Linked DNA regions of Homo sapiens: all the other regions are linked to region 3. The links are contacts of gene promoters, found by promoter capture Hi-C in blood cells and fetal thymus (Javierre and others, 2016). All regions are on one chromosome and are shown on one strand. Each heading gives the region's core, a stretch centred on a gene start or on the middle of the fragment in contact. The rest is flanking DNA. Distances are from core to core; before and after follow the strand shown. Region 1 has its middle 15 kb from the start of APLP2. Region 2 overlaps APLP2 (amyloid beta precursor like protein 2). Region 3 holds the start of NFRKB (nuclear factor related to kappaB binding protein). Region 4 overlaps APLP2 (amyloid beta precursor like protein 2).

Region 1 (6,403 bases), core at 290-2,789, 160 kb before region 3:
CCTGATTCTACAAAAAAAAAAAAAAAAAAAAAAAAATCAGCCAGGCATAGTGGTGTGCACCTGTGGTTCTAACTACCTGGGAGACTGAAACATTGATCCCAGGAGGTGGAGGCTGCAGTGAGCCCAGATCACACCACTGCACTCTAGTCTTGGTGACAGAGTGAGGCCCCATCTTTAAAAAAAAAAAAAAAAGAAAAAGAAATGCCAGAGAGTGAGCCCAGCTTACTTCTCAGGCAAAGCTTCATAAGGTAAAAGAGGTTTGGGGAGACCCCAAGGTCTATTCCTGGTTTGTTGTTTGTTTTGTTTTGTTTTTCATATAACAGCTTTATTAACATATACTATACTTTATTGATACATACACACCATATGATTCACCCATTTAAGGTGTACAATTCAATGGTTTTTAGTGTATTCACAGACTTATGCAACCATCACCACAATAAATTTGAGAACATTTTCTTCACACCAAAAGAAGTATTGTGCCCATTAGGAACCATTCCCCATTTCCCTCCAACGCTCCCTCCCCGAGCCTTAGGCAACCACAGATCTTACTCTCTGTATCTACAGATTTGCCTTTTCCAGACATTTCATATAAACAGAATCAAGAAGTATGCGGTCTTTGTGACTAGCTTATTTCACTAAGCGTAATGTTTTCAAGATTTAACCACGTTGTACAATGTATCACTATTTTATTCCTTTTTATCGACAAATATTAATAGTATTCCTTTTGTTAACATATGGCTAGACCACATTTCTCTCTTTTTCTCTAAGATGGGGTCTTGCTCTGTCACCTAGGCTGGAGTGCAGTGGCGCCATCATAGCTCATTGCAATCTCCTGAGCTCAAACGACCCTCCTGCCTCCGACTACCAAGTAGCTGGGACTACAGGCATGCGCCACTAAACCCAGCTATGCCCACGCTGGTCTCAAACTCTTGGCCTCAAACAATCTTCCCACCTCAGCCTCCCAAAGTGCTAGGATTACTGGCATGAGTCACTGTGCCCAGCCTAGACCACACTTAATTTGTCTGTTCAGCAGCTGATGGACATTTGAGTTGTTTCCACTTTTTGGCTCTTAAGAATAATGCTTCTGGCTGGGCATTATGGAATAATGCTCCAGCCTGGGAGACAACGTGAGACTTTGTCTCAAAAAAAAAAAAAAAAAAAAGAGATGGGTTTTCGCCATGTTGGCAAGGCTGGTCTCAAACTCCTGGCCTCTCTGAGGCTTAATGAGACTAAATAATTTGTTTCACATTACGTAGCAACTAGGTGGAAATAACAGCATTTGAACCCAGGTCTTCCTCCTTTCAGAACTGGCTGTCTAACGTACTAGACTAGACACATGCTGCTTAAACATTACCACATATTTTACGTCCATTTGTTGGAAATGACTGTTTCCCCCATTTTCACCACTACTTCTGCAGATGATTACTTGAAAAAAGTATACGGTAGGCCAGTCATGGTGGCTCACGTCTGTAATCCCAGCATTTTGGGAAGCCGAGGCTGGAGGACTGCTTGAGCCCAGGAGTTTAAGACCAGCCTGGGCCACATCTCTACAAAAAATTAAAAAAAGAATTAGCTGGGTGTAATGGTGCATGCCTGTGGTTCCAGCTACATGGGAGGCTGAGGTGGGAGGATCACTTGAGTCCCGGAGGTCAAGGCTGTAGTGAGCTATGATTGCACCACTGCACTCCAGCCTGGGCAACAGAGCAAGACCCTGTCTCAAAATAATTAAAATAAAATAAAAATAAAAAATTTTAAAAGTATATGCAAATTCTCAGTAGCTTTACTTTCAAAGAGTGACTTGGTATCCACATTCTGGAGACCCTTTCATGTGGCTCTCTCTATCCCGACTTCTTATGAGAAGTTGTTCATGATCACATTTCTGGCACAACTCCTTAAAAGCACAGTCAGCAGCATTCAAAGCGGCTCCTGGATGCCTGCCCTACAGGGACTTTTGATGATGTCTGTACTATTTTGAGATAAAAAGAGTTCTGCATCCAGCAGTCCAGAAACATTCATCCCAACATCAGCTTTTAAGTCCCTTGTTACATTTACATGATGGAGGCTGCCGATGACTTGAGTTGTTTCCAGATCCAGTGTAGCAAGTGGTATTTCACTCCTTTTTGAGATGAGCTGCAGATGAGGCAAGGCGCTGATCACTACGTGGTGACTAACACCACCATCACGCCTTCAGATACTGCTAATTTTGGAATGGCCAGATTTGCTTCAGATCTTTTCAGAAAACCAGAGTCATTGTCACCTGTACTTGCTGGTAGTCTCACACTAAATTACATGGTCATGGTAAAATATTATGGAATTTACATTCATCTTGAGAATCATCTAACAATGATGTTAGATGTAATTATATGATAAAATATTCTTTTTTTCCCTTTGAGATGCATACTAAAAAGTATTTAGGAATGAAACTAAAGAGTAAGATATTGCTCCTAAACAGACTATGAGAGGCAGACACAATTGAATATTTAATACAAGCACCAATTCAAAAATGCATGCCTATTCCTCGAATCACTGAGATTTCACTCTATGTGCAACCTTTCAGAGCTAACAGAAATTATTTACACTGAAGTGCACAGAGAACAGCAAAGATAAACTATACAGCACATGTGTCAAGAAGTGACATATTAGGTGAGGATAAGTGATACTTGAATATCACAAGATCAAGCTAACATCACCAAATAAAAAGATTGTAACAGTTTCAAGTCATAAAGACTGATGTATGGAGCAATAACCCATCCTTGCAAGGAGAAGTTATTCTTGCAGTAGTTGTTTTTAATCTTGCTCTTGGCTGCTGCCCTAGATAAATTAAGATTGAAGCTTTCAGGACGTATGAGGTTGAATTTACAGTGACAAAATGTGCAGGGCTTGCAGACCCAAGGATTGCTGCCCTCAAGAACAAGTAAAGGATGGGTCGCCATCTGATTCTTTATCTATATGACAATTTGCTTAGTTCTTTATAAATTTTGATGGGCGGGTTCAGTTGTGATTTCTGTTGTTTTCTATACTCGCTATGTTATGTGTCAATTCTAATTTAAATTCAGTGTCTGATGAAAACAAAACAAAACAAAAAATCAGCTCTCCACCATTCATCTACTTTATGTGTTATCCAAGATCTCTGCCTTGGTTTCTCAAATGGCTCACCCTCCTTTTTTACCATTCCCTTGAGGAAATACAAGGACATATTTTATTTATTTATTTACTTATTTATTGAGATGGAGTCTCATTCTGTTGCCCAGGCTGGAGTGCAGTGGCGCCATCTCGGTTCACTGCGACCTCTGCCTCCCGGGTTCAAGTGATTCTCCTGCCTCAGCCTCCTGAGTAGCTGGGAATACAGGCGCACACCATCATGCCCAGCTAATTTTTGTATCTTTAGTAGAGATGGGGTTTCACCATGTTGGTCAGGCTGGTCTCGAACTCCTGACCTCATGATCCACCCACCTCGGCCTCCCAAAGTGCTGGGATTACAGGCGTGAGCCACCGCGCCCGGCCCCAAGGACATATTTTTTTAAAGTCCCTTTTACCCCTGCTTGGGCAATTCCAGCGAAAGGGGTTTGGAAGTGAAGAAAGAAAAGAAAGGACAGCTAAGACCTAGAGAAAATTGTGGTCATACAATTTCAGTAATTAAAATGAACTTTGGAAGCTGTTTGCGGCTTTTTATTATTTATGCTTCACCTCTTATCAAAAACAAACCCAGTGTAATTGGCTTGTATATGCTCAGTAAATACCTCAAAATCCTACAGTTAGTAGTAATTTCTTTCTGCTACTAAGTCACTTTGAATCATTGAGCATTAATCAACAGTAAATTATACTGGGAATTCTCAAGCAATTGAGAATTGCTGACCCTTCAATGCTGACAGGCTAGTTACCAAACTCCAGGGCCAAAAATACTCTGTATTTGTATGGTGACTATATTTTCCAAAGCTAAAATTGAGACATATGATCTGATAATGAGATGAAATATTTGAACTCAGAACGTTTTGCCACCATACACACTTGACAGTTAAAAGAATATTTTGGCCAGACATGGTGGCTCACACCTGTAATCCCAGCACTTTGGGAGGCTGAGGCAGGCAGATCATTTGAGGCCAGGAGTTACAGACCAGCCTGGCCAACATGGCGAAACCCCATTTCCAACAAAAATATGAAAAAATTAGCTGGGTGTGGTGGTGCACACCTGTAATCCCATCTACTCAGGAGGCTGAGGCAGGAGAATCACCTGAACCCAGGAGACAGAAGCTGCGATCACACTACTGCACTCTAGCCTGGTCTACACTCTGTCTTGGGGAAAAAATATATATATTTTGCCATTCTACTCCCTATTCATAATTGCTTTCATTGTTGCATATTGGGCAGCCCTGGTCTTAATCAAACCCTTCTGATATGGTTTGAATGTCCCCTCCAAAACTCATTACCAGTATACCAGTATTGGAAGGTGAGGTCTTTAAGAGGTGATTTGGCCAAGCCCTTATGAATGGATTAATGCTGTTCTTGGGGAGTGGGTTAGTATCTCAGGAGTTGCTTCCTGACAAAGGACGAGTTCAGTCCCCTTTTTCTCTGTGTCTCACACGCCTGCTTGCTCTCTTGCCTTCTGTCATGGAAAGCCCTTTGCCCAGTGCTGGCACCATGCTCTAGGACTTCCCAGCCTCCAGAATCAGAAGCCAAATAAGCTTATTTTTTAAAAAATAAAGTACCCAGTCTGTAGTATTCTACTATAGCTACAGAAAATGGACTAAGATGCATTGCATTCATTAAGATGGGAACCAAAACAAAGAACACACATATTAAAGAGAAAAAAAGTCTAAAATGAAATAGCAGTAAAGTAACTGGAAATCATGGTGCTCAGATGTTTAATATTCAGCAATGTTAGATCATTATTTTTAATAAACTTATTTTTTGCAACAGTCATTAGGCCATTTTTAAAAAGGGTTTACAATTCTGGCAGATCTGATGTGTAAGAACAAAAAGATAGAAAAGCAATCCTGCTGTATTTAGCACTGGGCGGATTATTCTGTATTTAGCACTGGGCAGAGTATTGTGTACAAATTTGGTTTCTCTAATTAAAGAAAGATGTGCACAACTTGGGAACTGTCCCGAAAATTCAACCAAAACATTCAGAGGCTAGGAAGTAATCCATATGGAATTTATCATACAGATCTACTCACACAAATGGAAAATAATGAATGTTCATGTTTACTCACTACATTATTTGTAATAGCAAAATATTGGACTCCATCTAGAAGTTCATGAATATGAGACTGGCTAAATGAATAATGGCACGTCTATAAAATGAAATTTACTATAGCTGTAAAAGAGATTGAGAAAACTATGTTCTGTTGTGGAAAGATCTCTAAGATTCATTGTTAAGTGAAACAAGAAAGGTGCTCAACTATGTATGTAATACATGCTACTATCATGTTAAAGTAAAAAGAGGAGTGATATATATTTATTTCTGCTCGTGTATTAAAAAAAAAAAAAAAAATCTCTGGAAGTACACAGATGAAATCAATAACAGTGATTGCCTATAAAGGGTAGGCAGGAACTTGATGAACAGGTGATGGAAGGATAGAGAGGCTTTTTATTGTGTAGCTTTGTATACTTTTGATTTTTGATTCTTTCAAATGTATTACTTATTTAAGAACCCAAATAGATAATTTTAAATGAGCAACAAAAAGGAAAAGAAAGAATATGAAGAAGAATTGTCAGAGGGATGAGGACTTAAATTGTGTCTAACTTATGAAGAGCCCTGAGTAACACATCTTATCTAAGTGTCTCTACAATCAGTGTTAATTACCACATTGTTAACTCAATTGCAAAGACAAAGAATAAATGAATGGATTGTGCCTCAATATAGTTCACTCGTGATTCAAGGACATGGCTGTAATTCACTAAAGAGAAGACCCAATTAGTAGCCGATTTTTCCAAAATGACAAAGAATTAGTCAATGAAAGAGTAACACAATTCACTACTCCCTAGACTTAATGATGGTTGAAAAGCACTTTATAGTTTGCAAACTGCTTTCACATATATTATCTCATTTGATCTATTTTTTTTTTAAGAGACAGAGCCTCACTCTGTCACCCAGGCTGGAGTGCAGTGACACAATCACAGTTTACTACAGGCTTGAACTCCTGGGCTCAAGTGATCCTCCCACCTCAGCCTCCTGAGTAGCTAGGACTACAGGTGCATACCATCACACCTGGCTAATTAAAAAAATTTTTTTTGTAGGAGTGGGGTCTCACTATGTTGCCCAGGCTAGTCTTGAACTCCTGGCCTCAAGCAATCCTCCCATCTCAGCCTCCCAAAGTGCTGGTATTGAAAATATGAGCCACCATGCCTGGCCTGATCCATTCTTATAAAAACATTATGTGATATATAGGACAGAAAC
Region 2 (7,440 bases), core at 4,009-6,508, 210 kb before region 3:
ATTTGGTCAAATGGTGCAAACGTGTGTGGGATGAAAGTAAGGGAAACAGAAGACTCTTCTCCTGGGGCTGCTTGCTTTAATACTACTCAGCACTATCACCATAAACCACTGATATCAAACAATGTGAGGGCGTAAGTGCAATTGCTCTGTGGGTAGCACCCTTATTCAGTCCTGAGGAAGGATGTCTACAATGGGAAGGCAGAGTTAGCCATCACTGAGAGGAGGTCAACCACTGACACTCGAAGCCAGCAAACACCCCTAAGAGAAATCCTCCCCAATAAATTCATGTCACACTCAGCTTCTTAACAGGTGTAAATATTTCACTGTGAGCCAAGAGAAAATTAAATTTAAAATGGGAGGGGGCTGGCACTTCCTGAAAAGTAACCAAGAACACTCACCGAGACACTTGAAAGGTGTAACAAAGCGACTCTTGCATTGCTTTTTGTCCCTCCGGCACCAGTTGTCAATACTAACCCGCTGGTTTGCCTCCATCACATTTGTGATCTGTAGCTCTGGATACATCTGTTAAGAAAACAAACACACACACAATAAATCAATCTGCAGACAGACACACACTTGCAAGTAAGGATGGAGTGTCTAAGTTTATTCAGCCTCCACCCTTATCCTACATACATCTAAAGTTCCACTCCATTATCCCTGGCTCTAACTGAAGTCATCAAACAAAAAGATACTGTATTAGTTTTGACAGGTTAGATTTCTGAACACTTCCACGCATTCTGTTTTCAAAAGGGATATGTATTTAAGGACAAACAAAAGCAGCACGCTTTTAGCCCAAAACAAATTCATGAGATGTCAAGTTTGCTTGTAGGGTAGCTGTTGAACTGATGGCTCCGTGAGGCAAGTCTATGGAAACATCTGTCAATGAAATTACAGAACTTGACCCTGGCCCTGTCTGCTCATCTTGGTAAGAAGTGGTGGCTGATGCCTATAATCCCAGCACTTTGGGAGGCTGGGGAGGATGGCTTGAGGCCAGGAGTTTGAGAGTACCCTGGCCAATGTAGCAAGACCCTGTCTCTATCAGAAAAAATAAATACAAGTTATAACATCTCCTATCATTTTCTCTTTAACACAGAGTTGAATCAGACCTGAGATGATCCTTTACAATACTGGTGGCTTTCTGTCAGTAAGGAGACATGTTTTGTTTTCCATCTTCCAAGACAAGTGGGAGGATGAGAAGCAGGCTGCACTCCCATGGCACTTGCCAGGCTTCTGCAGTATCCCTTCCTTAAAGAACTGAGAGCTCACAGAACACGCAGGCAAAGCCTTTGAGAGGTCTCAGTCATGCCACACATTTAGAAACAAAAGGCTTGGGGCTCCAGTCATTAGCATCTTGGTCTTAGGTCAAAAGAGAATGACAGAATATCTATTTCTAAGGTAAACAGATTCAACCCTGCCCCAGAAAAATAACACTTTCAACTTACTGGCAACACTCTTACCTCCTGACAGTACTGAAGAACTTCTTCTTTTGTTTCAAAGCAGCTCTTGGTGCCTGTTGGATCAGGTTCCCATTTCCCAGTCTGAATGTTCACATGCATATTTAACTTCCCACAAAACATTGCGATTTGAGGCTCAGCAACAGCAAATCCTGTTCCGGCATTGGCTGCAAGAGCCTACCAAAGGGAAAAAAATTGCAGGTTTACTCCAAGAAGGCTAGCACAGAGGCAACAGTCATTCAGGTCTATGTGACAGAATGCATCTTTTAAAAACCTTAATTATTTACTATTTGTATCTTCACAAACAAATCCTTTTCCCAGGAGCTAGAACAGAATAAAAAGTGACTTCTGGATGTGTATGATCAAAGTGAAAGGCAAAGGAAAAAACTTTTTTATTTATTTTATTTATTATATTTTAAGTTCTAGGGAACATGTGCACAACGTGCAGGTTTGTTACACAGGTAGACATGTGCCATGTTGGTGTGCTGCACCCATTAACTTGTCATTTACATTAGGTATATCTCCTAATGCTATCCCTCCCCCCTCTCCCCACCCCACGACAGGCCCCAGTGTGTGATGTTCCCCACCCTGTGTCCAAGTGTTCTCATTGTTCAATTCCCACCTATGAGTGAGAACATGCGGTGTTTGGTCTTCTGTCCTTGCGATAGTTTGCTCAGAATGATGCTTTCCAGCTTCATCCAGGTCCCTACAAAGGACATGAACTCAACCTTTTTATGGCTGCATAGTATTCCATGGTATGTGCCATCTCCTTAATCCAGTCTATCATTGATGGACATTTGGGTTGGTTCCAAGTCTTTGCTATTGTGAATAGTGCTGCAATGAACATATGTGTGCATGTGTCTTTATAGCAGCATGATTTATAATCCATTGGGTACATACCGAGTAATGGGATGGCTGGGCCAAATGGTATTTCTAGTTCTAGATCCTTGAGGAATCACCACACTGTCTTCTACAATGGTTGAACTAGTTTAGAGTCCCACCAACAGTGTAAAAGTGTTCCTATTTCTCCACATCCTCTCCAGCACCTGTTGTTTCCTGACTTTTTAATGACTGCCATTCTAACTGGTATGAGATGGTATCTCATTGTGGTTTTGATTTGCATTTCTCTGATGGCCAGTGATGATGAGCATTTCTTCATGTGTCTGTTGGCTGCATAAATGTCTTCTTTTGAGAAGTGTCTGTTCATATCCTTAGCCCACTTGTTGATGGGGTTGATTTTTTCTTGTAAATTTGTTTAAGTTATTTGTAGATTCTGGATATTAGCCCTTTGTCAGATGGGTAGACTGTAAAAATTTTCTCCCAAGGTTGCCTGTTCACTCTGATGGTAGTTTCTTTTGCTGTGCAGAAGCTCTTTAGTTTAATTAGATCCCATTTGTCAATTTTGGCTTTGGTTGCCATTGCTTTTGGTGTTTTAGACATGAAGTCCTTGCCCATGCCTATGTCCTGAATGGTATTGCCTAGGTTTTCTTCTGGGGTTTTTATGGTTTTAAGTCTAACATTTAAGTCTTTAATCCATCTTGAATTAATTTTTGTATAAGGTGTAAGGAAGGAATCCAGTTTCAGCTTTCTACATATGGCTAGCCAGTTTTCCCAGCACCATTTATTAAATAGGGAATCCTTTCCCAATTTCTTGTTTTTGTCAGGTTTGTCAAAGATCAGATGGTTTTAGATGTGTGGTGTTATTTCTGAGGGCTCTGTTCTGTTCCATCGGTCTGTATTTCTGCTTTGGTACCAGTACCATGCTGTTTTGCTTACTGTAGCATTGAAGTATAGTTTGAAGTCAGGTAGCGTGATGCCTCCAGCTTTGTTCTTTTGGCTTAGGATTGACTTGGCAACGCGGGCTCTTTTTTGGTTCCATATGAACTTTAAAGTAGTTTTTTCCAATTCTGTGAAGAAAGTCATTGGTAGCTTGATGGGGATGGCACTGAATCTACAAATTACCTTGGGCAGTATGGCCATTTTCACAATATTGATTCTTCCTATCCATGAGCATGGAATGTTCTTCCATTTGTTTGTGTCCTCTTTTATTTCATTGAGCAGTGGTTTCTAGTTCTCCTTGAAGAGGTCCTTCACATCCCTTGTAAGTTGGATTCCCAGGTATTTTGTTCTCTTTGAAGCAATTGTGAATGGGAGTTCACTCACGATTTGGCTCTCTGTCTGTTATTGGTGTATAGGAATGCTTGTGATTTTTGCACATTGATTTTGTATCCTGAGACTTAGGCAAAGGAAAAATCTAACCCTCAATCCCCATCTGGGATACTTCTAACTTTAGAACATATAATCCAACTGCAGTCTGTCCTCGTAAAAGCTAATCTACTTTCTAATCCTTTGCACACACCAAATCATGAAAGTGGAGAATTACTAAAATTCCAATAATTTTACTTAATTTACCCACAAAAGAAAATTTTCTGAGCAACTACTATTTCGCAAAGCAACATGCTAAGTGTTTAGGATATAAGAGTGGGCAAAAAAGTCATGACCTGCTTTCTTGGGGCTCTAATGCAAGAGTTAAAACTCACAAAAAGTGTGACCACATTCCCAAATGTCTTAAGAAGGAAAAGAACACAGTGTTGAGAAAGCACATAAAAAAGGAATCTGGGCCGGGCGCGGTGGCTCACACCTGTAATCCTACCATTTTGGGAGGCCAAGGCAGGCAGATCACGAGGTCGAGAGTTCGAGACCAGCCTGTCCAACATGGCAAAACCCCGTCCCTACTAAAAATACACAAATTAGCCAGGCGTGGTGGCGGATGCCGGTAATCACAGCTACTCAGGGGGCTGAGGCAGGAAAACTGCTTGAACCCGGGAGGCAGAGGTTGCAGTGAGCCGAGATTGCACAATTGCACTCCAGCCTAGGCAAGAGAGCAAGACTCAAATCTCAAAAAAAAAAAGGAATCTGACCTAAGCTTGGGTAGGAAGCTGATCAAGGAAGCTTCCTAAAGAGAGTGACAGCTGAGTAGCGCTTTAAGCATCCCATATGGAGGCAATGTTGATTTTGAGGCAGAGAGATGGTGGGAGAGGCATGCCGGGACAAGAGTCTGCAGACCAAGAAAGGACTTCAGTCCTTACCACTGAAGTGTTGAGAGGCTTTAAGCAGAAAGTTACTATTTTCATAACAAAGCTCTGATGCTTTCTCTAGTTGCACGGTGAAGAACCGACTGAAAGGAAATGAGTGTATGCAGGGAAATCATTCAGGACACTGGAGGTGCACATTCCAAGAGAGGAATAAATGGTAGCTTGGGCTAAGGTGGAGTGGTGGATAGAGAGATTCAAGAAACCACAGAGCCTAAAATAGGCCTAGGTGTGATAACTGATATGAGGGATGAGGAAGAGGAAGGTTCAAGTTTGGCTCCCATGATTCAAAATGTGATGGCATCATTCATAAACACAGAACACTAAAGGGGATTTCATGAACAATTTTCTCTCATGTTGGGTAAAAATAATCAACTATTCCATAAGATCTGTCTTTGGCCCATATCCTTTTATGTGCAGTCTAACCATTAACAGCTCAGAAGCTATAGCTGAGAAGTAACATTACAACAGCAAGGCTCCTGCAGACATGCACGAGAAAAGCACAGGCATCGGCCGGGCGTGGGGGCTCACATCTGTAATCTCAGCACTTTGGGAGGCCAAGGCAGGCAGATCACCTGAGGTCGGGAGTTCGAGACCAGACTGACCAACATGGACAAACCCCATCTCTACTAAAAATACAAAATTAGCCGGGTGTGGTGGCACATGCCTGTAGTCCCAGCTACTCAGGAGGCTGAGGCAGGAGAACTGCCTGGACCCGGGAGGCAGATGTTGCGGTGAGCAGAGATCACACCATTGCACTCCAGCCTGGGCAACAAGAGCGAAACTCCATCTCAAAAAAAAAAAAAAAAAAAGCAGACAGAAAGACAGGGAGAGAGAGAGAGAAAGAGAGAGACAAGCACAGGCATCTCTCTAAAAACATCCATTACTCGTGGTTATAGCCATAAGAGTCCCCAACTGCAAAACTTTCTTCAAAATTAAAATAAATAAACAAATAACAGTTCTTAAGTTAAAACTTGTAGAGGAGGAGGGTTAGATTATATGGTCTACCATGTTGTTCTTTTCAAAAACAGCATATACATGACATGGTTTTCCTACTAACAAGAAAGGGTAGCTTTGATGCCCCCACCCTTTTTTTTTTGAGACAGGGTCTTGCTCTGTCACCCACGTGGAGTGCAATGGGGCAATCTCAGCTCATTACAGTCTCGACCCCCTGGGCTCAAGCCATCCTCCAGCCTTAATCTCCTGAGTAGCAGGGACCACAGGCATGCGCCATCACACCCAGTATACACGTATTTATATTTTGGTAGAGATGGGGTCTCATTGTGTTGCCCACGCTGGTCTCAAACTCTTGGGCTCAAGTGATCCTTCTGCCTTGACCTCCCAAAGGACTGGGATCCTAAGCATGAGATACTACGCCTAGCTGACTTTTAAAATATGTGGAAAATGTATGATTTTCTAGGAAACTTTAATTTATTTATGCTGATGAACTACACAGACATGAACAATCCTTCTAATCAGTAACTTAAATTTGATTGTGAAATATATTATGGTCTTTTTCCAGGACCAATTTACCATCTGACATATGTTTTGCTTCGAAGCTTATTAAAATGAACCTGCTTTCTACTAGTATAAGAGAAGGAAGCACCAACCCTTGTTGGACAGCTGGGAGAAAGCTAATTTGGAATTAAAATGTTGCCAATATCTATCAGGGCTGAAAAACACCTCAGTTAAACCCAACAAACAATTAGCACCTTTATTAACTAGAATTGACTTTACCCTGCTGGAACGAATATTCATTTATTAAAGTAGAAGGCCCTATGCCTTCAGTATGAATGCACGTGAAGCTACAGACTAATATGAGTTCCTGCTTCCCCCAAAGAAGGAAAAAACACCTAAAGATATGTGTAGGAAGGAACACACACCTATTCATAGGTAATACTCTAGTGGTGCTTAATTCAAACAAATCATTAAAAGGTATAAAGGATGCACAAGACAGATGTGCTTAATCTTCACACTTAGTTCAAGATGCATACCAAGCCCGGCACGGTGGCTCACACCTGTAATCCCAGCACTTTGGGAGGCTGAGGCAGGTGGATATCTGAGGTCAGGAGCTCGAGACCAGCCTGGCCAACATGGTGAAACCCTGTCTCTACTAAAAATACAAAAATTAGCCAGGCATGGGGGCGCGTGCCTATGGTCCTAGCTACTTGGGAGGCTGAGACACTAGAATCGCTTGAACCCAGGAGGCAGAGGTTGCAGTGAAGCCGAGATTGCGCCACTGCACTCCAGACTGGGCAACAGAGACAGAGAATCTGTCTCAAAAAAAAAAAAAAAAAAAAAAAAAAAGATGTGTACCAAAAGTCCTGTTCTTTTGTAATCTAAGGATTATGGCTAGAAACTTGGATTGTGTGTCGAGAAAAATGGGGATATCCAAAGATAAAGGTAAGGAAACCCCAGGGATATTTTCGTGTACTGAAACCAGTGCTCTCCCCCGAATCCTTTGCTTCCCACTTCGAAAGTTCAGATAGAATTAAATGAAGAAAATCCAAGAAGACATGATAAATACGTATATGAAAAGCCCAATCTACAGGTCGGAAGGAATGTGCTTCCTAAACCTGCTACGAATGAACTCCTATAGTTAAGTCTGAAAGCTTCTGAGCAGTGTTTCCTAGATTCCCTCTGGCCTTCTATATTTTTACATTAAAGACAGCTACTAAACAAATCAGATTTCAGGTGGTATTTAATCTGTCAGCAGTTCAGCCTGCAGAAGGAGAAACCATTTACCCCTTAAATTCCAAAAGTGAATATAGCTAAGAAACAGTAATTAGTTACATGAGGTCACCCAAGCCACAGCGTGGAATGGTCAATTTCATCGTAAAAAGCCATTTATCAGCACCAAAGATTATGTTCCACATGTTACTCATTATGGTTGT
Region 3 (7,181 bases), core at 4,682-7,181:
AAGGAGATATTGGTACCAAGAAAAATTTCCAAAACTATTGAGAGAGAGAGAGAGAAAGTATTGAAATTTTGTTCTGCCTTGCAGGATCCATTTATCATTCATTGGTAAAGGATATATTCCTTGTTCTTACCAAGTGTACATTTAACTCTTGCTGACATGTTCAGTGTATTTTATTACTTTTAATGCTGTCTTAAAATGAACATTCTTTAAAGTTGGACAGGAAGGTGGCATTTCTTATTTATTAACATTTTTAACTTTAAACATATTGTGACTCATCTAGACCTTTTAATAAGACGGTCAACTTCACACTTAGGGAAAAAATTAAAATGTGATGGCCACTTCTAATAATTCAGGTAGTTATAAGGGATCTGGAAGAAATCCAGTCTTTATGAATATACTATTAGTTGGGCATTAAAAAATCAGTATATATTTTAACTTTTTGTGACATGCTAACACATTTTCAGAATAATTATTGCATAGTAGAATTTATTACTCCAGAACAGAAAGACCTTACTTCATTTCAAATGAAGTTAATTAATTTACATTTCTGGGTAAAAACTGGTTCTATAAATTAAGTAGAGTAGCTTCTTTATGATAAAGACAATTTTCTGAAAAGTGAACAATTCTGTTAAAAGAACTTTATTGATGTGTAGATTTCGCACTTTATTTCTGAGACTGCGTTCATGTAGTTGTTCCCCAATGTTTGAGTACTAAGAGAACTTGAGAAAATTACTTCATAAACATATGGAAACTGAAAATGGACTCTCTTTGTGACAAAGATATTCAACAGAAAATATTGACCCTGCATTGCAAAACACAGGTTCGGGTTCCCTAAGTCCCACAGTGTAATGATTACAAATATCCTAGTGTCCGGTCTAGAAAGACTTTCTAGGAGAAGACTAGTGGAATTTTCTAAAGGTTCAGTTTTAGCTTTTATAACTTAAATTTGGCCCTGTTACGTTCTTTTTAATTTGAACCATAAGGTATCTCCCCTCCCTTCAGGAATAACTTATTGGAAAACTGAAAAGAATCACTGAATGGAATGTTCATTTTATGGCAGTTGTTTTAAGTTTTAAAATACACAGAGGAAAATATTGTGGAAGGACCTCTTTGTTGCTTTCCCTTCTAAGTTGTCTTCTTCTTCTTCTTCTTCTTCTTCTTCTTTGGTCCTTAAGTGAAATAAAGACTCTAAAACTAATTTGTATATTATCAGCCAGAGATGCGGATGGCAGTCGAGCCAAATCGCATGGCTTTCAGATCAGGTATTCTGCACATTCATTCCAAGGTCATAGATTTTTAAAAGGACCTGGATTTGAAGAGATGGCAAATGATGAGCCATCAGAAAACTTAATTTGGAAAACATGTATGTAGCCAGTGTGGATATTGTGGCCTCTCTCAAGACACATTGACACTGTAGACTTCATTCAGTCCAGTGTGAGTATTTTGGAGTAGGTTGGATGTAGATTTTGTTTTTATCATTGATTTGTACCGACAGAAATAGACATTTCATCATGTAAAATTCCTGTTATTCTGGAAAAACCTATTGTTTTGATCTTCTTGTTTTCTGACTTGGAAGTATCCTTTCAAAAAAACTCTTAAGATATCTAGGTCTAAAAAGCACTTCATGAGATGCTAAAGCTGACCCACTGGTTGAAAATGTTGACCCTATCCTGTTATTTAAATGTGAACATTTATTGTACATTCAGTGAGTTATAGTGTTAATAGTCTTGTGCTATGCAGCAGGTGTAAAAATTAATAAATATATTTTTTAATAAACATGTTTGTATGTGTGAAGCTACAAGAGCTATTTTTTTTTCTTTGAAGAATTGCAACTTTTGGTTTCCAGCGTGGCATACAGGAAGCTTGGAAGTTGTCCCTCCATCCTAGCAATAAGTAAGAAGCTGAGCAAATGGAAAGATCAACATCTCTCCTTAGATCCATCAGAAAGTTGAGCCCACAGGACAAACTGCTGTCCCCAAAATTGGAAAGACAAACAGGCAAATACAGAGAATCATAGCTTATTGAACAGAAACCCGTGAGAAAAAAATCCACGATCAATAACCTCTATGAGAACCAGCGCCAGGGTAGGAAAACTTGAACTATATTTGATGAATTGCTGCAGGCTCAGCGTGGAGAAATCTGAGAGGTTAAAAACTCCAGGGAACTCAGTCACTGGAGGGGGGGTCAAGGGAGACCCACACTTTTGTGAGTTTTATCCCCAGGAGCTTGACTAGGTTCTCACAGTGAAATTTGGAGAAAAATTCCCTCATGCTTCCAGCAGAGGAAGGGGAGAAGGAACCATTTTGAAATACTCCAGAGCTTTCTGATCTTTCTATTATAACAAGCACCGAACCTGCTGAAGTTATAGCAGAACCTCAGTCACCTGGAGGAAAGGAAATAGCCAGCCCCAGCCCATTCCAGCCATTGTCCCTCATCTAAGAGGGGATAACTGCGTAGCATTCGTGAAGTTCACAGTCCAGAGGCACAGGCTCACCAGAAGACTGAGGCCTCCTTTAGGAATACAGAATGCTTCCCCAACCCCAACACCTTACCACCACATTGCTAAAGGCCTACTTACAGAAGCTCTCTCTACCTGGCACATCATGACCAGCTATCAAGAAAAACATTACAAGGCATACTAAGAGGCAAAAGACACAAGTTTGAAGAAAGAGAGCAAACATCAGACCCAGAATTAGATATGGCCGAGATGTTGGAATTCACAGACTGGGAATTTGAAACAACTGTGATTAATATGAAAAGGGCTCTACTAGAGAAAGTAGACAACAAGCAATAACAAACAATGTAAGGAGAGAGATGGAAATCCTAAGAATGAGCTAAAATGCTAGAGATAAAAAATGAAGAGTAGGCTGGGCACGGCAGCTCATGCCTGTAAACCCAGCACTTTGGGAGGCTGAAGTGGGTGGATCATTTGAGGTCAGGAGTTCAAGACCAGCCTGGCCAACACGGTGTAACCCTGCTTCTACTAAAAATACAAAAATTAGCCAGGCGTGGTGGTGGGTGCCTGTAATCCCAGCTACTCAGGAGGCTGAAGTGGGAGAATCGCTTGAACCTGGGTGGTGGAGGTTGCAGAGAGCTGAGATTGCGCCTCTGCACTCCAGCCTGGGTCACAGTGCAAGACTCCACCTCAAAAAAAAAAAAAAAAAAAAAAAAAACATGAAGAGTAGCTGTGAGAGGCTAAATGGTAGACTAGACACATCTTAGGAAAGAATTGCTGAGCTTAAGGATATCTCAATAGAAACCTCTATAACTGAAAGACAAACAATATCCAAAAACTGTGAGATGATGAAAAAAAGGTATAACTATGCCTCATGGGAATACTAGCAGAAGACAGAGAAAGGAACAGAAGAAATATTTGAAGCAATAATGATTGATTATTTCCCCAAATCAATATGGAAGATGAAACCACAGATCCGGGAAGCTCAGAGGACACACAGGATAAATGCAAAAAAATCCTTCAAAACCAAAAAACAAATGAACAAAAAATGACTTTTCTTCAGAAACTGTGCACACAAGGAGCGAGTGGAATGAAATGTTTAAGGTGTTGAGAGAAAAAAGCAGTGTCTAACCTAGAATGCTGTAGCCCATGAAATTATCCCCCAAAAGCAAAGGGGATTTGTTGCCAGTAGACCTGCCTTGGAGAGAATGTTAAGTTTTTCAGAGAGAAGAAAAATGATAAAAGTCAGAACCTCAGATCTATATAAAGAAAGAACATCATTATTACCTTTAATAATGAAGGTAAAGGAAAAGTCTTACTTATTCTTTGTTGTTTTATTTTTCTTTTTACTTTTTTGAGACAGGGTTTCACTCTGTTGCCCAGGCTGGAGTGCAGTGGTGCAATCACAGCTCACGGCAGCTTCGATCTCCCTGGCTCAAGCGATTCTCCCACCTCAGTCTCCTGAGTAGCTGGGACTACAGGCACGTGCCACCACACCTGGCTAATTTTTTGTATTTATTTTAGTAGAGATGGGGTTTCACCATATTGCCCAGGCTGGTCTCCAATTCCTGGGCTCAAGTGATCCACCCATCTCAGCCTCTCAAAGGGGAAGATCCTGGGCATTGGGACTGAGGTGTTTTTGATACGTTCATGCAAAGATGCCTGGAGTGGGTGGTTGGATTTCTGGGTTGTTTGATTCATAATTGCTTGATTCATAATTGCCAAAACCTGGAAACAATGAAGATATCTTTCAGTAAGCGAATAGATAAAACTGTGATATATCGACACAATGGAATATTATTCAGCACTAAAAAGAAATAGGAGCTATCAAGCCATGAAAAGACATGGAGGAAACTTCAATGCCTGTTACTACGGGAAGGAAGCCAATCTGAAACGGCTACATACTATGTAATTCCAACTAGATGACACTCTGGAAAAAGGCAAAACTATGGAGACAAAAAGATCAGCGGTTGCCAGGGGTAGAGGAGAGGGAGAGATGAATATGCAGAGCACAGATGATTTTTAAGACAGTGAAATTACTCTGCATTATACTGTGATGGTGGGTAATGATGTATCAATGTAGGTTCATCAGTTCTTTTGTTTGAGATGGAGTCTCGCTCTGTCTCGCTCTGTCGACAGGCTGGAGTGCAATGGCTCAATCTCGGCTCACTGCAACCTCCGCCTCCCCGGTTCAAGCAATTCTCCTGCCTCAGCTCCCGAGTAGCTGGGACTACAGGTGCCCGCCACCACGACCGGCGAATTTTTGTATTTTTAGTAGAGACGCGGTTTCACCATGTTGGCCAGGATGGTCTCGATCTCCTGATCTCGGGATCCGCCCGCCTCGGCCTCCCAAAGTGTTGGGATTACAGGCGTGAGCCACCAGGCCGGGCCGGGTTCATCAGTTCTAAGAAATGTACCACTCTGGTAGAGGATGTTGATAAAGGGAAGGCGATGCATGTGGGGAGGTGGGGCGGGGAGTATTTGGAAAATATCTTTCTGCTCAATTTTGTTAACTTTAAACCACTTTAAAAAAACAAAGTCTATCAAAAATTATAGTTTACATTGTTTTTACTCTTTTTCTCTTTCTGGTCTTGTCACAATCTCAAGGTAAGGGAAATATCGGTGACAACTATAGAGTGATATTCCACTGCCATTTATACTCGATAGTTTCTAATTCAAGAGCCTCTCAACAGTGTAACAGGAACTTAGAGCATATGTGGAGCCAGTAGAGGAACAGAGATCGGGTTGTTTGGAAACTACTCTCTTCCAGGAAGGGAAGAACATTAGCTCGGCCGGCCGGCTTCTCTGGTCCCATCCACACACAGAACTGAGGATGGTCTCTGCGCCACTGCTGGGAGTACCTGGAATAAGTAGTGTGAAGCCGTACTAAGCAAAACCCAGTGAATAACAGGAAAGGGGCCTTCATATCTAAGAAGAGGAAAATGATGGAGTTTAACTTTAAAATGTGATCCTTCGATGTGTTTACATTCTTTCTGGACATCGAGGGCCCGGGGACGGGAAGGAGGAATGAAGGAACTCGGAAGCACAGGCTGAGGTCGCGTTCTACTCATGTCCTCAACTGTAAAATGGGCACTAATAGTGCATAGCTCACAGGGCTGCAGCACAAAGACGGTGGGTAGAAAGTGCTTAGCATAGGGCCTGGGGCAGGGTATGCTCTCTGCAAACGTCAGCTAATAGACGTGCCTTCGCTCACGGGCTATGGAACTTTGATTCGCGGTCAGGCAAAGACAGGCACTGTCTGGGGCCTCTGGAAGCTCCTAAATCAGGTGAGACGCGCAAGCAGGCTGGAACCTGCATCCCCAGGCCCAGCCGCGCGCAGGCACCCTCGCCGACCCTCCGCTCTCCCGAGCCGCTCCAGGACCCGCCCGCTGTGGCCCCGCCCCGGCACCCTCCAGGCCCCGCCCCGCGCTGCCCCGCCCCTTCCGCCGCGCAGGCCCAGAGCGTGCGCGCACCCAGACTCCTTGCGGGAGCGAGTGCGTCTGGGAGCCCGCGGCCGGAGAAGGGCTGCGGGTTAGGGGGCCGGCGCCCGCGGTTCAGGTGAGGGCGGGCAAGGGGCGGCGAAAGGGTTGAAGTGTCTCCTGGGAGTGGAGGGAGCGGGAGCGGGCGGCTGGGTCCGCGAGGTCGCTGCCCGTGTGGGCGTGGGGAGCGGGAGCGGGGCGTGGGGAGCGGTGCGACGCGTGAGGCTGGGGGTTAGGGTTAGGCACGGCGTGGGGGAGGGGCGGGGCCGAGCCGTGCAGTTCTGAGGATTGGACCCGGGCCTTGGGCCAGCCGGGCTGGCACCGGAGGGGAATTTGCTGCAGAGTTGAGGGCTTTGGAGCCGGCGGTTGCTCTGGAAGGACCCGAGGGTTTAGCTTCTGCGTTGGGGAGGGTCCAGCGGGGAAAGTTAGACCAGGTGCTGAAAGCCAGTGATGAGAGGCCGAGAGGCCTTCGTGGTCTAGTGAAGAGGTTCAGAACGCCCGAAGATCTGGAAATCCTTGGCTTCCGGGGTCCAACTCCCTGGCAGCTGCCTGGTTTTGGTATTTTGAGATTCTGTTCAGAATAGTGGCAGTGCAAAGGTTGTCAGTGGACTAGATTAACTTTAGCTAGACACGCACCGTCACTGAAGAAACTTGTGAGCAAGTTGTATAGAGACCTCCTAAGAGGCAGGTAGGACACTGACTTTGCAGTTGATAGTCTGTTCTATGCCAGTTCTGTTAAGAAGGTTTTATTCTGAGCATCAGGTTGCTTCTGCAATTTTTTTTTGGTGCTATTTTGAAGTTTTGTTAAACTCACATGCTATGTGCTGTCTCACCCGCTTCACTTATTTAGGCATAGGCATGATGAGGATGTCATTTCACCATGTGCTGAAGGGTGATGAGGGGGCACAGTTGCTTGGGGACCACCCACGTGACTTGACTCAACGCTTAAGTTTCTGCTATATCTTTACATGGATCTGAAATCTCTTCAAGGGAGCTTGAAATAATTTAGTGGAACATGCTTCATTTTACATATAGTTATTCTAGAACTGTTCTTTATCATTGGAGAATTTTGGAAAAGAAAAGTACCTGTATTACGTAATTCACACTGTCACTCATCTAGAGATTATTCATTGCAGGATTCCAGAATTGGAAATAACGGGAGGGAGGACCTGGTCCAGCTTCCCTTCCTCAAATAAGGAAATTGACACCTGGCGTGGTAAGATTTGTGGAATGTGGTGTTTGTGGAA
Region 4 (6,862 bases), core at 906-3,405, 190 kb before region 3:
GCTGTGTCCACTCAGGGTTAAATGGATTAAGGGCGGTGCAAAATGTGCTTTGTTAAACAGATGCTTGAAGGCAGCATGCTCGTTAAGAGTCATCACCAATCCCTAATCTCAAGTAATCAGGGACACAAACACTGCGGAAGGCCGCAGGGTCCTCTGCCTAGGAAAACCAGAGACCTTTGTTCACTTGTTTATCTGCTGACCTTCCCTCCACTATTGTCCCATGACCCTGCCAAATCCCCCTCTGTGAGAAACACCCAAGAATTATCAATAAAAAAATAAATTTAAAAAAAAAAAAAAAAAAAAAGACAGAGCTAGAACTAGAATACTCCACCAGCATCTTTTGACGCGCAACAATTCAACAGCTACTATGAATATACTGGAAAACTAGAGATGGGAAAGTATTCCCAAGATCATAAGCTTTTATTTGTCATAAACATAACTTTGAAGAAAATAAAATTCTGACCCTTTATTCAAAGATCATTTCACTTGATTACTTTACAGTTATGTCAGTCAACACACTAGCCACTGGGTCTTATAGGTTGAATAGGGCCTCAAATTTCATTTACTGAAATCCTAGCCCCAAATACCTCTGAATGTGACCTTATTTGGAAATATGGTCACTGCTGATGTAAGTGGGAGGAGGTCATACTGGAGCAGGGTGGGCCCTTAATCCAATATGACTGGTGTCCTTCTGAGAAGGCGAAATGTGAACAGACAGACATGCATGCACACAGAGGGAGCGCCACGTGAAGATGGAGTTACGCTGCCAAAAGCCAAGAGCGAGGCCTGGAACAGGCCCTTTGTTAGTGCCTTCAGAAGGAGTCCAGTCCTGCTAACACCTTGAACTGGGACTTCTAGCCTCCAGAAAACCAGAAAAGTGAAACAATAAATTTCTGTTGCTTAAGTCACTCCATTTGTGGCATCTTTGTTACAGCAGCTCTAGCAAACAAACACACTGGGTAAACAAGACTCAACATGTGTATTTAGGGAGCATATATACTCTGAGACAGGATCCAGATGTAGAGAAACAGGATTACAATGTAAGGTGCACGCTGTGAATGTGAGGTGAGGACATGGAGACAGTGAGCATGCTGCAACTGAGAAGAGCTGTAACAGAGGCATGCACGGACTTGGCACAGGAGAGCGACAGCTACGGAGGATGAGGGGCTGAGCCTTCAGAACTCTTCTCCAAGGAAAGTGTGCTTGGGCTCCCTTCCAGCGTGTGCATGACCCTGCTATGCATACTTTGGAAGGTAGGAGGGTGTGATCAGGAAAGATGAAGTATAGAAAGGAGACCAGTTAGGAAGCCACTGCATTCATCCAGGCAAAAGATGATGAACAAAGGCAGGAGCAGTGTGAATAGGAAAGTGACAGATGAGAAATACTTGGACAGGGGACATGAAGGAAGGATTGGAATGAGTCCAGCTTTCTAATTCTGACAACTGGGAGAATGGCAAGGCTAACAGCCAAAGAAATTGGACGGGTGGTAGGGAGGGGGCTGAGGATTGGAGACTGATAAACTTCAGTTTTGAGTGGCATCATACTGGAAGGACTCACAGCTTACCAAGTGCCGCGTTTTTTGTCCACCAGACAAAAATAGAGGATGGGCATTCCAGAGGGTAACGTGAGCTGGAAGTAAGGATTTTCTATTCATTACCAGGCTGGAAGAATTTTAAGCCTAGAGATTAGGCAGAACCACCTGGGGGAGACTGTGCAATGTGAAAAAAAGAAGGCCGTCCCTATTTTCTACAGGTATATTATTAATATTATAAGTTGGGAGTCTATTTCTGAACAAATATCAAAAGAAAAAAAAGGACACAAATTATGACTGAGATACTTAAGTTTTTAACAACATTTTATTTTATTTTTCATATTATTTTAAATGTTGTTAAAAACTTAAGTATCTCGGTCATTCTGGAGTGTTTTCTTCATGGACTAGACTGCCTGAGGTCTCAAAATTTAAAGTTAGTGAAGCAGAGAGAGAAGATGACATTTGCTTTTCCTGGAAAACTTCTCTGGAGCAAGCATGAGTATCTGGTGTTGCTTGCTCTACAAACCTTCTTATTTCCTTCCAGTTTATATGCCTAGATGATTCGCATTGCTAATTCATTGTACATGAAGTCCTCAATCATGTCAAGAATGAAGTCAGAGATTTTCCCAAAGATAGACTCTTCAGAGGTCTGTTACTCCCGATTTCAGTTAACTTATTGGAAAACTCTGTTTCCTTACCAGTGCTTGCAGCCTTCCCTGAACAATGATTTTCTTAAAATTTTATGGTTTTTTCCCCCCTGGAACAATCAAACCATCCTTTCCTTGTCCTAAAATTCCTTCCTTTGATGACTTACAGATATCACCCAGACCAAGTTTAACCAATTATGCTGAGTGAATGGGGTAATTTTGGGGCCATCTGAATTCAAGTTACAATAATATGCCTCATGCATCCACATTTTGTGACAAGTTCAGCATCTTCACTGACTACACATACACAGGGAAAACTACATGTAAAAACTGTTTGGCTGGGAGCTTATCAGGCTTGAGTCTGTGCTCTGTATTTAATCTTTTAAAAGCAATACTTAAAATATTTTAATCTGATTTTAATCTGTCCTGAATACTATTCCTATTGTTTAAAAACAACACTAACCAACATTGAGTTTCAATGACTTTTATCAATTCACAAGATTAATCTTGCAAAACAATAGCCCAGCAGGATTTTTTTTAATGTAGATCCTGAGGAAGCTAATCAAGCCGCAAATAATCATTCTTCTAATAGGAAGTGGCTAGACGGAAAAACATTCTACAGTATTACACAGAAAGCCTCTTCAGAAGAGGATAAGGGGCAGGGTGGAGTCCAACCAATCGCAGGGCCATTCTGCTATGAAATGTGGTTTTTGGTTCACTTGAAACCTGCCATGGTGTTAAATATTTACTACAAAAGATCATTTCAAACCAATGTTCTCTTTTCCTCGTTTTCAACAAAGGTTGAAAACTCAACTGCCTCTACATCACAGACAGGGAATGGGGAGCTAGAGGGTAAGACCAAAATGGAGACCCATACTCAGCCCCCTCGAAGAGACCACAGGCTCTCTTCACCAACTGAAGCGGGGCTGCCACTACTTAGCCCCTGCTGCCAGATGTTCTAATTTCTTTAAAACCAGAGCGGAATTTTTATATTAAAACCCATGATCTTTGGAAATGAATATATTTACTTTGAATTTAAGACACAAGGAAGGTCAAATGGTAACAGCCAAATAAAACACAAGGACAGGTCACATTCTGCCTGCAGACTGCAGGTCTTCAACCTCAACTTTAGGTTACGTACTAGGTATCACAGTGAGGACGCTGATGACAGTTACTCTAAAAGAATAAAATTCACCAAACACCTTACACTCAAAAGCCATAGTGTAAACTAAAAGTAATTGTATTCTGTTAATTACTAATTTACAATAATTAACTTTAAAGCTCTATGGCATTTGAGGGTTAGAAGACAATACTGTTATGACAAGACTACCTAAAACAATCTACAGATTCAATGCAATACTTAATAGCCCAACAGGGTTTTGTTTTGTTTTTTCACAGAAACAGAAAAATCCATCTTAAAATTCATATGAAATCACACAATCTTGAGACGGAAGACTCATACTTCCTGATTTCAAAACTTACTACGAAGCTACAGTAATCAAACAGTGTGATATTGGCATAAAGACAGACATTTGGAATAGAGAGCCCAGAAATAAATCCTCACATGTTTGGTCAATTGATCTGCCAGGACAATTGAATGGGGATGCAACAAATGTTGCAGAGACTGGATAGCAACTTGCAGAAGAGTGAAGCTGGACCCTTACCTTAAACCATATACAAAACTGAACTCAAAATGGATCAAAGACCTAAGCTTAAGAGCTAAGACTATAAAACTCTTAGCTTAGAAGAAGACTTAGGAGAAAAGCTTCATAACATTATATTTCACAACGATTTCTTAAAAATGACACCAAAACTACAGGCAACAAAAGAAAAAAATAGATAAACTGGAATTCATCAAAGTTAAACTTTTGTGCATCAAAGGACACTATTGAGAGTGAAAACACAAACTGCAGAATGACAGAAAATATCTACAAATCACATATCTAATTAACATCCAGAATATATAAAGAACTCCAACAATTCAACAATAGCAACAAAACAATCTAATTCGAAAATGGGCCAAAGACTTCAACGGACATTTTTCCAAAGATATAAAAATGGTCAACATGAAAAGATACTCAACATCACTAGCTATTAGAGAAATGCAAATCAAAACAATAAGACACCGCTCCACGCCCATTAGGATAGCTATTATTTGAAAAAGGAAAGTAACTGTTGGCAAGGATGTGGAGAAATTGGAACCTTTGTCCACTGTCAGTGGGACTGGAGAACAGTAAAGTCACTGTGGAAAACAGTTTGGCAATTTCTCAAAAATTTAAGCACAGAATTACTATATGATCCAGCAGTTTCACTTCTTAGTAAATATCCGAAAGAACTGAAAGCAGGGACTCCCATATCTACATGTACGCCAATTTTCATAGCAGCATTGTTTACAGTAGCCAAAGGTAGAAACATCCCAAGTGCCCATTAACAGATGAATGAACAAAATGTGGTATATATGCACAATGGAATATTACTCAGTCTCGAAAAGGAATGGAATTCTGATGCACAAGCCTTGAAAATATACTAAATACACCAAACTCAAAAGGACATATTTTATGATTTCACTTACTTGAGCCCCAGAATAGGCAAATTCATAGATCACCAGGGGCTGGGGGATCCAGGGGAATAGAAAGTTAGTGTCTAATGGGTACAGGGTTTCTGTTTGGATGAAAAAGTACTGGAAATGGACAGCGGGGATGGTTGCACAATGTTGTGGATGTCCTTAATGCCACCGAATTGTACACTTAAAAACAGTTAAAATGAAAATGTTCCCTCTTCAATATTTTGGAAGACTATGAGAAGGATTAGTGTTAATTCTTCCTTAATGTTTAGTAGAATTCTCCAGTGAAGTCATCTGGTCCTGAGCTTTCCTTAGTTCGAAGTTTTTTTTGTTTTGTTTTGTTTTTTGGTTTTTTTTTTGAGATGGAGTCTCGCTCTGTTGCCCAGACTGGAGTTCACTGGCACAATCTCAGCTCACTGCAACCTCTGCCTCCCAGGTTCAAGCAATTCTCCTGCCTCAGCCTCCGGAGTAGCTGGGATTACACACACCTACCACCATGCTTGGCTAATTTTTTTGTATTTTTAGTAGAGACGGCGTTTCGCCATGTTGGCCAAGCTGGTCTCAAACTCCTGACCTCAGGTGATCAACCCACCTCGGCCTCCCAAAGTGCTGGGATTACAGGCATAAGCCACCGCACTCAGCCTGTTGGGAGGTTTTTGATTACTGACTCAATCTTCTTATTTGTTACTGATCTGCTCAAGTTTTCTATTTCTTCATGATTCAGTCTTGGTAGTTTGCACGTTTTTAGAAATTTACCCATTTCTTCTAGGTTATCCAATTTTTTGGCATACAACTGCTCATAATAGTCTCACGATACTTTTTATTTTCATGGTATCAATTGTAATGTCTCCTCTTTCATATCTGATTTTGTGTCTTCTGTTTTTCTTAGTCTAGCCAAGGGTTTGTCAATTTTGCTTATCTTTTCAAAAACCCAACTCTTTCTTTGATTTTTTTCTATTGTTTTTTTCTATTCTGTTTTCATTTATTCTGTTGCAAATTATTTTCCTCCTTCTGCTCACTTTGGGATTAGCTTATTCTTTTTCTAGTTTGAGGTGTACAATTAGGCTGTTTGAGATCTTTCTTATTTTTTTAATGTAGGCATTTACTGCTATAAACTTCCCTCTCAGTGGTGCTTTTGCTGCATCCCAAGGGTTTTGGTATGTTGTGTTTTCATTCGTTCAAAACATCATCTAATTTCCCATTTGATTTCTTCTTTGGCTCAATGGTTAAGACTGCTGTTTACCAAGGGTGTGTTTAATTTCCACCCATGAAGCCAGCATTACCCTAATAACAAAATAGGATTAAGACACTACAAAAAAAAGAACACTATAAGCCAATATCCCTGATAATCACAGACGCAAAGGATGTCAACAAAATACTAGCAAACTGAATCAGACAACACATTAATAAGATCATACACCTGGATCAAGTGGGATTTATCCCTGGGATGCAAGAATGGTTTAACACATACAAACCAAAAAATGTGGCATATCACATTAACAGAATGAAGGACAAAAATAATATGATACCCTCAAAAGATGCAGAAAAAGCATTTTTTTTTTTTTGAGACGGAGTCTCGCTCTATCGCCCAGGCTGGAGTGCAGTGGTGCAATCTCGGCTCACTGCAAGCTCCACCTCCCAGGTTCACGCCATTCTCCTGCCTCAGCCTCCCGAGTAGCTGGGACTACAGGCACCCGCCACCACGCCTGGCTAATTTTTTGTATTTTTAGTAGAGACAGGGTTTCACCGTGTTAGCCAGGATGGTCTCGATCCCCTGACCTCGTGATCCGCCTGCCTCGGCCTCCCAAAGTGCTGGGATTACAGGCGTGAGGCACCGCGCCCGGCCGAGAAATCGGAACTCCTGTATGCCGCTGGTGAAAAAATGGTGCAGCCACTATAGAAAATAGTATGAAGGTTCTTAAAAAATTAAAAGTAGAATTATCATATGATCTATCAATCTCACACCTGGGTATACAGCAAAAGAATTAAACTCATTATCCCAGACAGATATATGCATTCCCATGTTCACTGCAGAATTACTGACAATAGCCAAGACATGGAAACAACCTAAATGTCCATCGAGAGATGAATGGATAAGGAAAATATGATATATACATAAAA

Evidence for each region. The method cuts DNA at HindIII sites, captures the fragments that hold promoters and counts their contacts. A CHiCAGO score of 5 or more calls a contact.
Region 1: a contact is called between a fragment that was not itself captured here and the fragment with the promoter of NFRKB in region 3, in 1 of 17 cell types (total CD4 T cells). The highest score is 5.0, in total CD4 T cells.
Region 2: a fragment that was not itself captured here is called in contact with the fragment with the promoter of NFRKB in region 3 in 13 of 17 cell types (total CD8 T cells, M2 macrophages, non-activated CD4 T cells and 10 more); the score reaches 7.4 in total CD8 T cells.
Region 4: a contact is called between a fragment that was not itself captured here and the fragment with the promoter of NFRKB in region 3, in 8 of 17 cell types (non-activated CD4 T cells, naive CD4 T cells, total B cells and 5 more). The highest score is 6.0, in non-activated CD4 T cells.

Annotation. Positions count from the first base shown.
Region 1 is chr11:130,051,465-130,057,867 of GRCh38, reverse strand. No RefSeq gene overlaps it. Among named protein-coding and RNA genes, the nearest start is that of APLP2, 15 kb to the left of the region's middle. The HindIII fragment of the contact is 2,596 bases long and covers 242-2,837 here.
Region 2 is chr11:130,103,620-130,111,059 of GRCh38, reverse strand. APLP2 (amyloid beta precursor like protein 2) reads right to left here. Exons shown (of 17, transcript NM_001142276.2): 2 at 1,458-1,631; 3 at 399-522. Among named protein-coding and RNA genes, the nearest start is that of APLP2, 37 kb to the right of the region's middle. RefSeq lists a silencer at 4,679-4,879. The HindIII fragment of the contact is 1,699 bases long and covers 4,409-6,107 here.
Region 3 is chr11:129,894,328-129,901,508 of GRCh38, reverse strand. NFRKB (nuclear factor related to kappaB binding protein) reads left to right here and starts at 5,931. Exons shown (of 27, transcript NM_001143835.2): 1 at 5,931-6,013; 2 at 7,071-7,150. It overlaps PRDM10 (PR/SET domain 10), which reads left to right. Exons shown (of 21, transcript NM_199437.2): 21 at 1-1,798. RefSeq lists a silencer at 5,775-6,214. The HindIII fragment of the contact is 7,376 bases long and covers 1,865-7,181 here.
Region 4 is chr11:130,083,690-130,090,551 of GRCh38, reverse strand. The region is part of intron 1 of APLP2 (amyloid beta precursor like protein 2); the gene reads right to left. Among named protein-coding and RNA genes, the nearest start is that of APLP2, 17 kb to the right of the region's middle. The HindIII fragment of the contact is 3,472 bases long and covers 420-3,891 here.